5 separate regions of the Homo sapiens genome follow, and regions 1, 2, 3 and 5 are each linked to region 4. Evidence: promoter capture Hi-C in 16 types of primary human blood cells and fetal thymus (Javierre and others, 2016). All regions are on one chromosome and are shown on one strand. The core of a region is centred on a gene start or on the middle of the fragment in contact, and the rest is flanking DNA. Distances in the headings are between cores, read along the strand shown.

The links. The method cuts DNA at HindIII sites, captures the fragments that hold promoters and counts their contacts. A CHiCAGO score of 5 or more calls a contact.
Region 1: a contact is called between a fragment that was not itself captured here and the fragment with the promoter of VPS37D in region 4, in 11 of 17 cell types (monocytes, total CD8 T cells, naive B cells and 8 more). The highest score is 7.8, in monocytes.
Region 2: a contact is called between a fragment that was not itself captured here and the fragment with the promoter of VPS37D in region 4, in 17 of 17 cell types (erythroblasts, endothelial precursors, naive B cells and 14 more). The highest score is 13.5, in erythroblasts.
Region 3: the fragment with the promoter of BCL7B here is called in contact with the fragment with the promoter of VPS37D in region 4 in 17 of 17 cell types (monocytes, neutrophils, naive CD4 T cells and 14 more); the score reaches 12.5 in monocytes.
Region 5: a fragment that was not itself captured here is called in contact with the fragment with the promoter of VPS37D in region 4 in 2 of 17 cell types (neutrophils and activated CD4 T cells); the score reaches 5.7 in neutrophils.

The regions. Positions count from the first base shown.
Region 1 is chr7:73,539,800-73,542,499 of GRCh38, forward strand. BCL7B (BAF chromatin remodeling complex subunit BCL7B) reads right to left here. Exons shown (of 6, transcript NM_001707.4): 4 at 83-253. Among named protein-coding and RNA genes, the nearest start is that of BCL7B, 17 kb to the right of the region's middle. The HindIII fragment of the contact is 3,180 bases long and covers 1-2,700 here.
Region 2 is chr7:73,600,583-73,603,282 of GRCh38, forward strand. The region is part of intron 7 of MLXIPL (MLX interacting protein like); the gene reads right to left. Among named protein-coding and RNA genes, the nearest start is that of MLXIPL, 23 kb to the right of the region's middle. RefSeq lists silencers at 1,257-1,551, 2,277-2,571 and enhancers at 2,248-2,700, 2,277-2,571. The HindIII fragment of the contact is 3,425 bases long and covers 1-2,700 here.
Region 3 is chr7:73,556,429-73,559,128 of GRCh38, forward strand. It overlaps BCL7B (BAF chromatin remodeling complex subunit BCL7B), which reads right to left and starts at 1,262. Exons shown (of 6, transcript NM_001707.4): 1 at 1,059-1,262. The coding sequence starts at 1,150. RefSeq lists silencers at 598-1,047, 1,068-1,117, 1,138-1,247, 1,298-1,537. The HindIII fragment of the contact is 11,403 bases long and covers 1-2,700 here.
Region 4 is chr7:73,666,495-73,669,194 of GRCh38, forward strand. VPS37D (VPS37D subunit of ESCRT-I) reads left to right here and starts at 1,337. Exons shown (of 4, transcript NM_001077621.2): 1 at 1,337-1,602. The coding sequence starts at 1,465. RefSeq lists silencers at 948-997, 1,008-1,107, 1,218-1,517 and an enhancer at 1,499-2,494. The HindIII fragment of the contact is 11,431 bases long and covers 1-2,700 here.
Region 5 is chr7:73,753,008-73,755,707 of GRCh38, forward strand. No RefSeq gene overlaps it. Among named protein-coding and RNA genes, the nearest start is that of ABHD11, 16 kb to the left of the region's middle. The HindIII fragment of the contact is 4,808 bases long and covers 1-2,700 here.

The sequences.
Region 1 (2,700 bases), core at 109-2,608, 130 kb before region 4:
CTGTTACTCTAAAGACGAGACACAACAAGAGCAGAAAGCAAGGCCCTTCTAGGAAACTCATCCTCGGCCAACCACGACTCACCCTCCAGGATCTCCTGGCCCAGCGTTGGGGGCTGGGAGTCATCCGTGCGGAAGTCGGAGGTGTGTGCTGGGCTCAGGGACTCACTCTGCTGGGGGCTGGGGCTTGAGTTGGTGCTGCTGTCCACCTTAAGCTGATAGACGTCAGACACGGAACTCTGGTTGCTGTTTTCGTCTGAAAACCAAACAGAACAAAGGCAGCAGCTGAGCGTGGTCATTTTCCTCAAGAGGAACTCTGGACAGAGCCAAGGGCCTGGCATCACTTTAGGCAGCCAAGGATACAACTGAGTATAATAATCATTGTGCCCGGCCTACACGACATAGATTCTAAGCACCAGAGGCAGCCAGAATCTTTATGTTTATGCAACATTACACTTTAGGAAGGTCAGGATATGCTTATTAAACTCTTCTTTATTATCCACTGATTGCAGCTTGTGGAAGGGAGGGATGTAGCTGTGTCTCTGGTCAGTACTTCTCAATCCTTCTCACATCATAAGATGTGTAGAAAATGACATTTGTCAGGCATCCTTGGGCATCTGAAGGAGGCTGGTGGTGTCTGAAGGTGGTGAGCTCAGGCTTCGGCTGCCGGACTGACGGATTAGCACCTGGGAGTTCTGCCTGAAGGCTTAAAGTCACCATCAAGGTGCAAAACTTAAGAGTTACCAGGCCGAGGCCAGGCACGGTGGCTCACGCCTGTAATCCCAGCACTTTGGGAGGCCGAGGTGGGCAGATCACAAGGTCAGGACATCGAGACCATCCTGGCTAACACGGTGAAACCCCGTCTCTACTAAAATTACAAAAAATTAGCCGGCTGTGGTGGTGGGCACCTGTAGTTCCAGCTACTCAGGAGGCTGAGGCAGAAGAATGGCATGAACCTAGAAGGCAGAGCTTGCAGTGAGCCGAGATCGCGCCATTGCACTCCAGCCTGAGCAACAGAGCGAGACTCTGTCTCAAAAAAAAAAAAAAAAAAAAAAAAAAGAGTTACCAGGCCGAGTGCAGTGGCTCACGCCTGTAATCCCAGCACTTTGGGAGGCCAAGGTGGGCGGATCACTTGAGGTCAGAAGTTTGAGACCAGCCTGGCCAACATGGTGAAACCCCGTCTCTACTGAAAATACAAAAATTAGCCGGGCATGATAGCACGCGCCTGTAATCCCAGTTACTTGGGAGGCTGAGGCAGGAAAATCGCTTGAACCCGGGAGGTGGAGGTTGCAGTGAGCTGAGATCGTGCCATTGCACTGTAGCCTGGGTGACATGGCGAGACTCCGTCTCAAAAAATAAAAATTAAAATTAAAAAAAAAGAAAAAAAGTAAGAGTCACCAATGCATTCCTCCGCTGCACCTACAGTAGCCAGTCACCAAAGTGTTTCCCCCTCCTGCTCTGGTATCATTTGTGCTCATTCCTTCCTCTCCTACTGCTTCAGTTCAAGCCTCATCATCTCCAGCCTGGCCTCCTGCAACAGCCACATACCTCACTGCCCTGCCTCCAGTCTCACGTACCTTAAACTGAACTGCAAACCACTGCCAGAGAGACCTTTCTAAACCCTTCGACGCTCCACTGCTGCCTAAGGGAGAAATGTCATACCCAGTACTTTTTTTTTTTTTTTTTTTGAGACCGAGTTTCGCTCTTGTTGCCCAGGCTGGAGTGCAATGGTGCTATCTCAGCTCACCACAACCTCTGCCTCCTGGGTTCAACTGATTCTCCTGCCTCAGCCTCTTGAGTAGCTGGGATTACAGGCTTGCGCCACCACGCCTGGGTAATTTTGTATTTTTATTAGAGACGGGGTTTCACCATGTTGGTCAGGCTGGTCTCGAACTCCTGACCTCAGGTAATCCACCTGCCTCAGCCTCCCAAAGTGCTGGGATTACAGGCATGAGCCACCACGCCCAGCCATACCCAGTACTTCTTAGGAGAGGCAGGAGCTGGCCTTATCGCAACATAGGAAGTCCTTTCTGATCTCTGGCCTCAGTGCCTACTGTTCTCCTACAAGCATCCTCAGCTCCAGGCAGACTGGACCCTAACCCAAGAGCTTCGTCATGCATGGGTGCTTCTGCCCAGCTGTTCCTTGGCTAGGCTGCCTTCTCTTGTCCTGGAAAGCCTCAGACCTCCCAACACAGCCCCGACATCACTTCTTCCGCGGAGCCCTACCTCCCTGGCTCGCATAGGTGGAAATGCCCACCCTCTCTTACTCTCCTGTGATAGCCTGTGCACGCCTGCATTTATCATTTCGCACACGTGCTTCCTCCCATGAGCCTCTGTGGACAGGCTCTGTGGCTCACTTGTCCTTGACTCCCCAGTGCAACGCACGGTACCTGCATACAGTGGGAGTTCATTAAGTGTTTACTAAATGAAAAGGAGGAGATGGTGGCCAGACTGAGGAAATGGAGCCTCATATGTCTCCCAGAGCCTTCTGACTACTGAACACACGTTGGTGTTCCCTTTCCAACAGCACATGGTTGACCTTGGTGGGGCCTGGGAAAGAGGTGGGGAAGGAATAACTACACGCTGGGTTAGCTCCAATCTGGTTTTGAAGAGAAAGTCATAAACTCATGCTAGTCTTGACTCCTATAAAGACCTTTAATACCCACACTAAAATGGAAGTAGCATTTTGTCACCAAATGAATA
Region 2 (2,700 bases), core at 80-2,579, 66 kb before region 4:
GGCTAAGGGTGGGCTCCAAGTAGGGTGGGGATGAGAGGGGGCCTAAGGGTGGGCTCCGAGTGGGGTGGGGGCGAGAGGGGCCTAAGGCTGGGCTCCGAAAGGGGTGGGGGCGAGAGGGGCCCTAAGGGTGGGCTCTGAGTGGGGTGGGGGCGAGAGGGGCCTAAGGGTGGGCTCTGAGTGGGGTGGGGCAAGGGGTCTGGGAAGCCTGCGAGAGCTGGGGGAGGCAGTAGCGGATTGTTTGGGGTGCGGGTTGTGTAAGTCCTGGGCTATTCTGGTTTTGGGAAGCAGCTGGCCACGGCCTGACCACATCCCGGGCCTGGGCGCCGCCCGCCCACCCGCTCCCTTCCGGGCACCTTTCTCTGACCCTGACCAGCCTGTGATCCGTGCCAGCTCCTGAGGCCTCTTAGTCTGGGCAGTTCCGACCCCACCGTGACAACTCCCCACAGACCTGGGTGGGCCCCAGCTCCCAGTTTTTTCCCTCCCACCCCCCTGCCAGGAGAGCTGCTCAAGTCTGCCTCCCAGGAGCCACCTCCAAGGAGACCAGGAGTCAGTTAGATAAGGTCACCCCAAACCCAGAACCCACTGCAGGGTCAAGTGTGTGTGTGTGTGTGTGTGTGTGTGTGTGTGTGTGTGTTTGTGTCTTCACCCCCAACCCCATCCCCCAGAGATAGAATCGTGCTATGTTGCCCAGGCTGGTCTCAAACTTCTGGCCTCAAGCCATCCTCCTGCCTCAGCCTCCTAAAGTGCTGGGATTATAATGAGCTTGCGTGGGAGACAGCAGGGGACTGTGGGTGTGAACAGGAACCCCAGGAAGCAGTCCCCTCCCCTGCACAGCACCAGGCTTAGCTCAGGAAGTCCCCCTTCCCATCCCCTGGTGGCTCCCTTTCCCTGATCTGCTGGTACAGAAAGGAGGTGCCCAGAGAGAATGCCAGGGTGGGAAAGGGGTGCAGGGCGAGGGGAGGAAGTTAGCCACCGTGCCTTGCTGTCACCCAGGTTGGAATGCGGTGGCACCATCTCGGCTCACTGCAACCTCCACCTCCTGGGTTCAAACGATTCTCATGCCTCGGCTTCCCGAGTAGCTGGGATTACAGGCATGCACCACCACACTCAGCTAATTTTTGTATTTTTTAGCAAAAATGGGGTTTTGCCATGTTGCCCGGGCTGGTCTCAAACTCCTGAGCTCAAGCGATCCTCCTGCTTTGGCCTCCTAAAGTGCTGGGATGACAGGAGTGAGTCACCGCGCCCGGCCCTGTGTGTCGTCAGTGGCTTTGCTTTGCAGGAGGGTGCAGAGCCTGTGTGTTGCAGTCGCTGAACCCTGGAGTCTCAGCATGGGGTCTGCACGCAGCCTCTGCCTACCCTCTGGGTGTCTGTCGCTCCGTCTGAGGCCATGTGAACCTGTCCTGCCATGATAGCATGGTGCACGTGCGTCTGCTCTGTGCCTGTCCGCGTGTCTAACCTCATGGCAAAACGGTGTCTTCTTGCTGTCCACCTGCCTGCCTGCCTGCCTGCCTGCCTTCCTGCCTGCCTGCCTGCCTGCCTGCCTGCCTGCCTTCCTTCCTTCCTTCCTTCCTTCCTTCCTTCCTTTCTTTCCCTCTCTCTCTTTCTTTCATCTCTCTCTCTCTCTTTCTCTCTTTCTTTCTTTTTTTTTTTTTGAGATGGAGTCTCGCTCTGTAGCCCAGGCTGGGGTACAGTGGCACGATCTCGGCTCACTGCAGCCTCCCAGGTTCAAACAATTCTCCTTGCCTCAGCCTCCTGAGTAGCTGGGATTACAGGCCCCCCTGCTGCCTTTCTTTAAAAGGGGGACCAGGCCAGGCGCGGTGGCTCACGCCTGTAATCCCAGCACTTTGAGAGGCTGAGGTGGACGGATCACCTGAGGTCAGGAGTTCGAGACCAGCCTGGCCAATGAGGGGAAACCCCGTTTCTACTAAAAAAAAAAAAAATACAAAAATTAGTCAGGCGTGGTGGCGGGCGCCTGTAGTCCCAGCTATTCTGGAGGCTGAGACAGGAGAATTGCTTGAACCCGGGAGGTGGGGGTTGCAGTGAGCCAAGATGATGCCACTGCACTCCAGCCTGGGCAACAGAGCAAGATTCCATCTCAAAAAAAGGGGGACCAGGTGGGAGATGGCGAGTGGTCACTGCTGCTCCCCCATCTCCCAGGGTCCACAGTTCCTGTCACTAGGTCCCCGAGGCCCTGGCTCTAGAATCAGCCTCATGCTGTGCCTGGCCCCAGGCCGCTGAGGGCCTAGGGCTCCTCCCTGCTCACAGCTGCTGCCCACTCCCTGGGTCCCGGGCAGGGGTCATGGGGCCGCAAGGCCCTCTCATCCCTGAGTCACCAGCCACCCGCTTACCATCGTTGCCCAGGCCTGTCCCCACCCTGCCTTGAGAGAAGTTGCTTCCCAGCCCGAGCTGCTCACCAGGGCCCAAGTCCCTCCCTAGCCTCTGTCCCCTCCACGGACCTGACCTGTCATCCCCTCCCTGAGCTCCTCTGCCTCTGGCTGCCTCCCTGAGCACCCCTCACTAAGCCTCCTGCCTCCATAGAGTTCTGGTCCCCTCCCTGGGTTTCCAGCCAGACCTCCCCAGTGGGAGGCTCTTGGGGGCAACGAGAGCTGCCGTCTTGGTGGTACCAGTGCGCTCTGCCCTCTGGGTACACGGAATGTTTGATAAGAGAGGGCCACACGAGCCACCTCCTCTGTGTGGCCC
Region 3 (2,700 bases), core at 12-2,511, 110 kb before region 4:
GCCTCCCAAAGTGCTGGGATTACATGCCTGAGCCACCTCACCTAGCCAGACCTGGGTTTTTAAATTATTAGTAGTAATTGGCTATACAAAAGAGCTGACGAAGTTGGCTGTGAAAGTTTAATGTGATGACTCCGATACACACCGATATAGTATGTATCGGAGTTCCGGATACTAAACAGGGGCTCAATCGGCATCTTCCATGAACATTTTAGACACGGGGTCTCTCTCCGTAGCCCAGGCTGGAGTGCCGTGGCACGATCATAGCTCACTGCAGCCTCCAACTCCTGGGTCCCAGCAATCCTCCCACCACAGCCTCCCAAGTAAGGATGTGCACTTTAAAAAGACCACTCTGCTACTTGGAAGTGAGAAAAATAAAATCACACAGTGCAAATGATGAACGGACTGGGGAATGAACAAGAGCAGAAGCAGGGAAATTAGAGGGAGGCTGGTACATAGTTTGCAAAGGACTCTCCTGACAGCCGCCGGGGCAGCAAGAGAAAATGCCTACCAAGCTCGCGGCGCAGGGGCCGGTTACTGGGGGAAAGGGAGGGGTATCCCTCTGGATGACACCAGGCTTGCTCCCTTGACAGATGGACTAACCCAGAAACTCACCCAACTTCAACGCCTGAATACGCAGAGCGCTCAGCCTGGCGGGCTGACACCACTCCAGGGCTACTCGCTATTATCAAGAGGAAGCCTGGAAACGCAGGCGGGGCCACTGCCCAGGAAGAGGGGAGGGCGGGCCCCGGGCTGGGCCGGGCGCGGGCACCGACGCCAGGCAGCTCCAGTCCGGGCCGGAAGCCGGAATCCCCTCCCAGGCGGCGCGCGGCAGCAGCCGCAGCAGGTGGGCGGGCCCGCGAGCCGGGAGGACCGCTGATTGGCCGCGGCCGGCGCGCCCTCTGACCTCACGCCGACGCCAGCGGCGCCCTCCTCCCGCCTTCTCCCGCACCCCCCTCCCCCAGCGCCGGCCGGTCGGCTCCCACCTGACCCGCCAGTCCCACGCTCCTCAGGGCCTGGATCCGCGACCCCCGCCAGCCCCCTAAGCTCCGGCCCCTCACCATTTCCGCACTTTCTCGATGGCCGCCATCACCTTCTTGATGTCGTCCTTGGCCCGGCTGCGGGTCTCCGCCCGGACCGACCGGCCCGACATGGCGGCGGCGGGAGCGGCGGGGGCCGGGGCACTGCTCCCAAGACACCGGGGATCGCGCGCCTCACGCGCCGCCGCCCGCCCGCCGCCGCCGCAGCGTCACAGCGGCCGTCGCCCCCTCCGTGCGCGCGTGCGCGAGAAAGCGCGCGCACCCGCCCGCCCCTTGGGGCTCACGGCCTCAGCGCGCCTGCGCGCCCCGCCCGGGGCGTCCCTCCTGAGTGCCCCGGGAGTCCCCTGAGCCCCCTACCCGGGCCGGGGTGCGAGGCGGGTTGGGCGCACGTGCTTGTGGTCAGGGCGAGGTGCGAGGTGCCGCCGGTGGGCAACCTGGTTCTCTTCCCTGAGAGTTTGGAGGTCGGCTCCCTGCTCTGGCCAGCGTGTTAGGAACCTGACCCTGTGGAACCGCACTCCTGCGCCATCTCTGTCCTCCCGCCTCTCCTGCCCAGCACCTTTGCCCTCTGGCTCCTACGCTGTGCTCCAACCACGCCTTTCTTAAGGATGGCTTCCGGTCTTTGCACACACCTGTTCCTCACCTGGAATCCCCTCCTCTCTTTACCAGATGAACTGCTTTCCCAGCATTCAGACCACATTCTTGCCTTTTCTCGAGTATCTAGTAGTCCCAAGTATTTGGGAGGCTGAAGCGGGAGGATCACTTGACCCCAGGAATTTGAGGCTGCCGTCAGCTATGATATGATCGCACCTGTGAATAGCCACTGCACTCCAGCCTGGGCAACATATGGAGACCCCATGTCTAAACGAGACCCCGTCTCTAAAGTAAATAAATAAAAAGATGTCTATTTTGTGCAAGACTCTGTACCTAAAGCTGAAGACATACGTGGTTTTGGTTTCAAAGAGCTTCCAGTTTGTTTATTTATTGAGACGGAGTCTCGCTCTGTGACTCAGGCTGGAGTGCAGTGGTGTGATCTCCGCTCACTGCAACCTCCGCCTCCCGGGTTCAAGCGGTTCTTCTGCCTCAGCCTCCTGAGTAGCTGGGATTACAGGCGGGTGCCACCACGCCCAGCTAATTTTTGTAATTTTAGTAGAGACGGGGTTTTATCATGTTGGTCAGGCTGGTCTGGAACTCCTGACCTCGTGATCTGCCCGCCTTGGCCTCTCAAAGTGCTGGGATTACAGGCGTGAGCCACCACGCCTGGCCTTTTTTTTTTTGAGACGGAGTCTCGCTCTTTTGCCCAGGCTGGAGTACAGTGGTGTGATCTCGGCTCACTACAATCTCCGCCTCCCGGGTTCAAGCAATTTTCTGTCTCAGCCTTCCGAGTAGCTGGGATTATAGTCGTCCGCCATCACACCCAGCTAATTTTTTTATTTTTAGTGGAGATGGGGTTTCACCATGTTGGTCAGGCTGGTCTTGAACTCCTGACCTCGTGATCCACCTGCCTCGGCCTCCCAAAGTACTGGGATTACAGGCGTGAGCCACCGCACCCGGCCCAGTTTATTTATTCATGTGGAGAGGGGATCTCACTATGTTGTCCAGGCTGGTCTTGAACTCCTGGTCTCAAGGGATCCTCACAAAGTGCTGGGATTACAGGCATGAGCCA
Region 4 (2,700 bases), core at 87-2,586:
CTCGGCTCACTACAACCTCCGCCTCCCAGGTTCAAGCGATTCTCCTGCCTCAGCCACCTGAGTAGCTGGAATTACAGGCGCCCACCACCACGCCCGGCTAATTTTTGTTGGTCAGGTTGGTCTCAAACTTCTGACCTCAAATGATTCACCCACCTTGGACTCCCAAAGTGCTGGGATTACAGGCATGGGCTACCGTGCCCGGCCTCTGTGATGCTTCTGCATGTCTAAAATAACAAGTGGGTATTGACCTACTATGTGTATTCATTATAACATTGCTAGCCATATCACTATCCCTCAGCATTTTAATTTTACTTTTATAGAGATGGGGTCTTGCTGTGTTGCCCAGGCTGGTCTCAAAACTGAGCTCAAGCAATCTCCCACCTCTGCCTCCTGAGTAGCTAGGACTACAGACGCATGCCACCATGTCCGGATACTTTTTAAAAGCATTTAAATACTTTTAAAAATTGTTCTTTTCACTCTTTTTTTTTTTTTTTTTGAGACGGAGTCTCGCTCTGTCACCCAGCCTGGAGTGCAGTGGCGCGATCTCCGCTCACTGCAAGCTCCGCCTCCCGGGTTCACGCCATTCTCCTGCCTCAGCCTCGCGAGTAGCTGGGACTACAGGCGCCCGCCACCACGCCCGGCTAATTTTTTTTGTATTTTTAGTAGAGACGGGGTTTCACCATGTTAGCCAGGATGGTCTCGATCTCCTGACCTCGTGATCCGCCCGCCTCGGCCTCCCAAAGTGCTGGGATTACAGGCGTGAGCCACCGCGCCCGGCCTCTTTTCACCCTTTTGACAATTTTTAAATTTTTTTAAATAGAGACGGGGGTCTTGTTATGTTGCCCAGGCTGGTCTCAAACTCCTGGCCTCAAGCGATCCTCCCTTCTCGGTCTCCCAAATCGCTGGAATTACAGGAGAGAGCCACCGCGCCCGGCCAGCAAGTCAGCGCTCACCATCTCCAACCCCATTTTACAGAAGAGAAAACTGAGGCTTGGGGAGGGCTGCAAGGCAGGAGCCCTCGGCGCCCGGCCAAAGTCAGAAATTTGTTGTTGCCATCCGAGGGGAAAACGTGCACGGGCTCTGCAAATTGTAACCGCCCGGGGTGGGAGAGTCCGTGCCTGGGGGCGTGGTGAGCCAGGGCCGGTGCTGGGGCGCAGAGCAGGGCGGCTCAGATTCCGGGAGGGGCGGGGAGATCGGGTTGCTGGGCGATCCTGGGGTGCTGGAGGCGGCGCGGCGCGGCCGGGGCGGGGAGGGGTGCGGCCCGCCTCCTCCCTGCCCCACCCCCAGCCCCGGCGCCGCGGCTCCTTTAAGAGCGGGAGGGGCGCCCCCTGGCGGCGGAGCGGTGCGTGCGGCCGGAGCCGGAGCGGATCCTGGAGCCGGAGCGGAGCGGAGCGGAGCGGAGCCGGGGCGGAGCGGGCCGAGCGGGCCGAGCCAGCAGCCGAGCTGGGGGCGCGGGCGGGCGGCATGTACCGGGCCCGGGCGGCGCGGGCGGGGCCGGAGCCCGGCAGCCCGGGGCGCTTTGGGATCCTCAGCACCGGGCAGCTCCGGGACCTGCTTCAGGATGAGCCCAAGCTGGACCGGATCGTGCGGCTCAGCAGGAAGGTAGCGCGGGGGGCTCGAGCGGGGGGCGCGGGGGACGGGCAGCGGCCTGCGGGACCTGCCGCTCGAGGGAAGGGCCGCGCGGGCCGGGCCGCGGGGCCGCCCGTGGGCGCGGAGCCTGGCACGTACGAGTGGGCCCCGCGGAGCCACCCCCGGGGGAGGGGGCGCTTGGAGCTGGCCTGGGGCGGGTGGGGCGCCGGGGACCCGAGGGGGGCGCCTGTGCACCCCCAGGATGGCCGCGAGGCGTGTCCTACAGCGGATGCTCCGGGGAGGTGTGTTCCGGGGGGCTGTGTTGTGGGGGGCCCTGGCTCGCACACCCACGTTCTGTAAGGGCCAGAAAGAGGAGGCGCCTTCCACTGGGAGAACTAGGGGCCTGTCTGACACCTGGAGGGGCCGTTGGGGGTTCACGCATTCTGGGGGCGCAAGAGGGGGCTTTGTGCCTGGCGTTGGGGAGGGGTGCTGGAAGCTGCCGTGTGTATTGCATAGGCCACCGTAAGAGAAAGTTGTATATTTCACGGGAGATAGGCCCGGGCTGGTTGTCTGTGGGGGGCAGAAAGGGCAAGTGTGTGTTGAAAGCAGGCAGGCGAGGAGGGGCTTGTGCATCCCACAAGGGACAGATGGAGGGGAGTGCGTTCTCCAGGGGCAGGGAGGGGAGGTTGGGCCCTGCTAGAGACAAGGAAAAAGCCTTCTCCAGGGCCGGGGCTGCTGTAAGCCCGGAGCAGGGAGGAAAAGGGGGTGTGTATTCCTTGGGGTGTGAGGATTCCACTGGAGGCAGAGGAAGGGGTGGGAAGGGAAGAGAGGGTGACCCGAGGGGGTGCTGTGAGGGGACGGGGTGCAGACACCCCTCTGGAGAGGATGAGCAGGGGGTGGGAGTGTTTTCGGTGCAAACACCTGAGGAGGAAACAGACAAAGGCCTGGAGTGAGAGGGAAGCTGTCCATGCATGGAAAATGGGGCAGAGGAGGGAGGGGCACTCCTCCGGGACCTGAGCAGACATATTAATTGAAAAATTAAAAATTAACTAACATTTGTAGAGGCCTTTATAGTTTTCCTCACTTAAGTCTCTCAACAACCCCATAAGGTGGATGTTTTTTAACTCGATT
Region 5 (2,700 bases), core at 181-2,680, 87 kb after region 4:
TTGCTCTGTCACCCAGGCTGGAGTGCAATGGTGCCGTCTGGGCTCACTGCAATCTCTGTCTCCTGGGTTCAAGCGATTCTCCTGCCTCAGCCTCCCAAGTAGCTGGGACTACAGGCACGTGCCAGCATGCCCAGCTAATTTTTGTATTTTTAGTAGAGACAGGGTTTCACCATGTTGGCCAGGCTGGTCTCAAACTCCTGACCTCAAGTGATCCACCTGCCTCAGCCTCCCAAATTGCTGGCATTACAGGCGTGAGCCACCGCGCCCAGCCAGAAAGTGGTTTCTTGAGATGGAAACTACTCCTGGTGAAGATTGTGTGAACACTGTTGAAATGACAACAAAGGATTTATAATATCCTATAAACTTGGTTGATCAGCCATCTAAGTTTTATAGTTTTAGATCTTATATTTAGGTCTTTGATCCATTTTGAGTAAATTTTTTTATATGGTGTTAAGGAACCAACTTCATTTTTTTGCATGCAAATATCCAGTTTTCCCAGCATTATCTGTGAAAAGATTGCCCATTCCTCACTGAGTGGTTTTGGTATCCTTATTGAAAATTATTTGACTTCATATATGAGTGTTTATTTCTGAGCTTTTTATTCTATTCCATTGGTCTATATGTCTGTCTTCATGCCAGTACCACTGTTTTGATTACTGTAGCTTTGTAGTAAGTTTTGAAAGCAGAAAGTATGAGTCCTCCAACTTTGTTCTTTTTTTTTCTGAGACAGAGTCTCACTCTGTCACCCAGGTTGGAGTGCAGTGGTGCAATCTCAGCTCACTGCAACCGCCACCTCCCAAGTTCAAACAATTCTTGTTCCTCAGCCTTCTGAGTAGCTGGGATTACAGGCTCGCACCACCATGCCTGGCTAATTTTTGTATTTTTAGTAGAGACGGTGTTTCACCATGTTGGCCAGGCTGGTCTTGAGCTCCTGACCTCAGGTGATCCGCCTGCCTCGACCTCCCAAAGTGCCGGGATTACAGGCATGAGCCACCGCGCCTGGCCTCTTACTGTTTCTGGATATGAATTTCCTGCTTCAATCAGGTCAGCCTCTGCTCACTCTTGTGCATATCATTTTTCTGCCTTGTGCATATCATTTTTCTCCTTGCTGTTGCCCATCAGTGAATCCTGCTTGGGAAGGCTTCCCCTCTTAGCTCTGCCCATCTCAAACTTACTTATTTAAGACTCAGAAGCATACTTATAGGTTGGGCATGGTGGCTCACGCTTGTAATTCCAGCATTTTGGGAGGGTGAGGTGGGCGGATCACTTGAGCCCAGGAGTTCCAGACCAGCCTGGGCAATATGACAAAACCCTGTCTCTATTTAAAAAAAGAAATTTAGGCCGGGCGCAGTGGTTCATGCCTATAATCCGAGCACTTTGGGAGGCCGAGGTGGGCGGATCACAAGGTCAGGAGATCGAGACCATCCTGGCTAACATGGTGAAACCCCGTCTCTGCTAAAAATACAACAACAACAAAAAATTAGCCGGGTGTGGTGGCAGGCACCTGTAGTCCCAGATACTTGGGAGGCTGAGGCAGGAGGATAGCATGAACCCGGGAGGCAGAGCTTGCAGTGAGCTGAGATGGCGCCACTGCACTCCAGCCTGGGCAACCAAGCGAGACTCCATCTCAAAAAAAAAAAAAAAAAAAAAAAAAAAAGAAATGTAATTAAAAAACAACAACAACAACAACCAGCCCTGCAGCACTATTCACAATAGCAAAGGCATGGAATCAACCTAAATGCCCATCAGTGATAGACTGGATAAAGAAAATGTGGTACATATACACCATGGAGTACTATGCAGCTATAAAAAAGAATGAGAACGTGTCTTTTTCAGGAACATGGATGGAGCTTGAGGCTGTTATCCTTAGCAAACTAACACAGGAGCAGAAAACCAAATAGCGTATGTTCCTGCTTATAAGTGGGAGCTAAATGATAAGAACTTATGAACACAAAGAGGGAAACAACAGACACTGGTGTCTACTTGAGGGTGAGGGTGGGAGGAGGGAGAGGAGCAGAAAAGATCACTATTGGGTACTGGGCTTACTTGGGTGACAAAATAATCTGTTCAACAAACTCCTGTGACACGTGTTTACCTATGTAAGAAACCTTCATATGTATCCCCAAACCTAAAATAAAAGTTAATTAAAAAACCCAACCAAACCAAAAACCGGCCAGGCGTGGTGGCTCACGGCTGTAATCCCCACACTTTGGGAGGCCAAGGTGGGCAGATCACTTGAGGTTAGGAGTTTGAGAGCAGATGGGCCAACATGATGATACACCATCTCTACTAAAAATACAAAAAGTTTGGCTGGGGATGGTGGCTCACGCCTCTAACCCCAGCACTTTGGGAGGCCAAGCCAGGAGGATCACCTGAGGTCAGGAGTTCGAGACTGGCCTGGCCAACATGGCAAAACACTGTCTCTACTAAAATTACAAAAATTAGGCGTGCTGGTGGGTGCCTGTAATCATAGCTACTTGGGAGGCTGAGGCAGCAGAATTGCTTGAATCCGGTAGGTGGAGGTTGCAGTGAACCGAGATCGTGCCATTGTACTCCAGCCTGGGCGACAAGAGGTAAACTCTGTCTCAGAAAAACCCCCAAAGTTAGCTGGGCATGGGGGTGGGTGCCTGTAATCCCAGCTACTTGAGAGGCTGAAGCGGGAGAATTCCTTAAACCCGGGAGGCGGAGGTTACAGTGAGC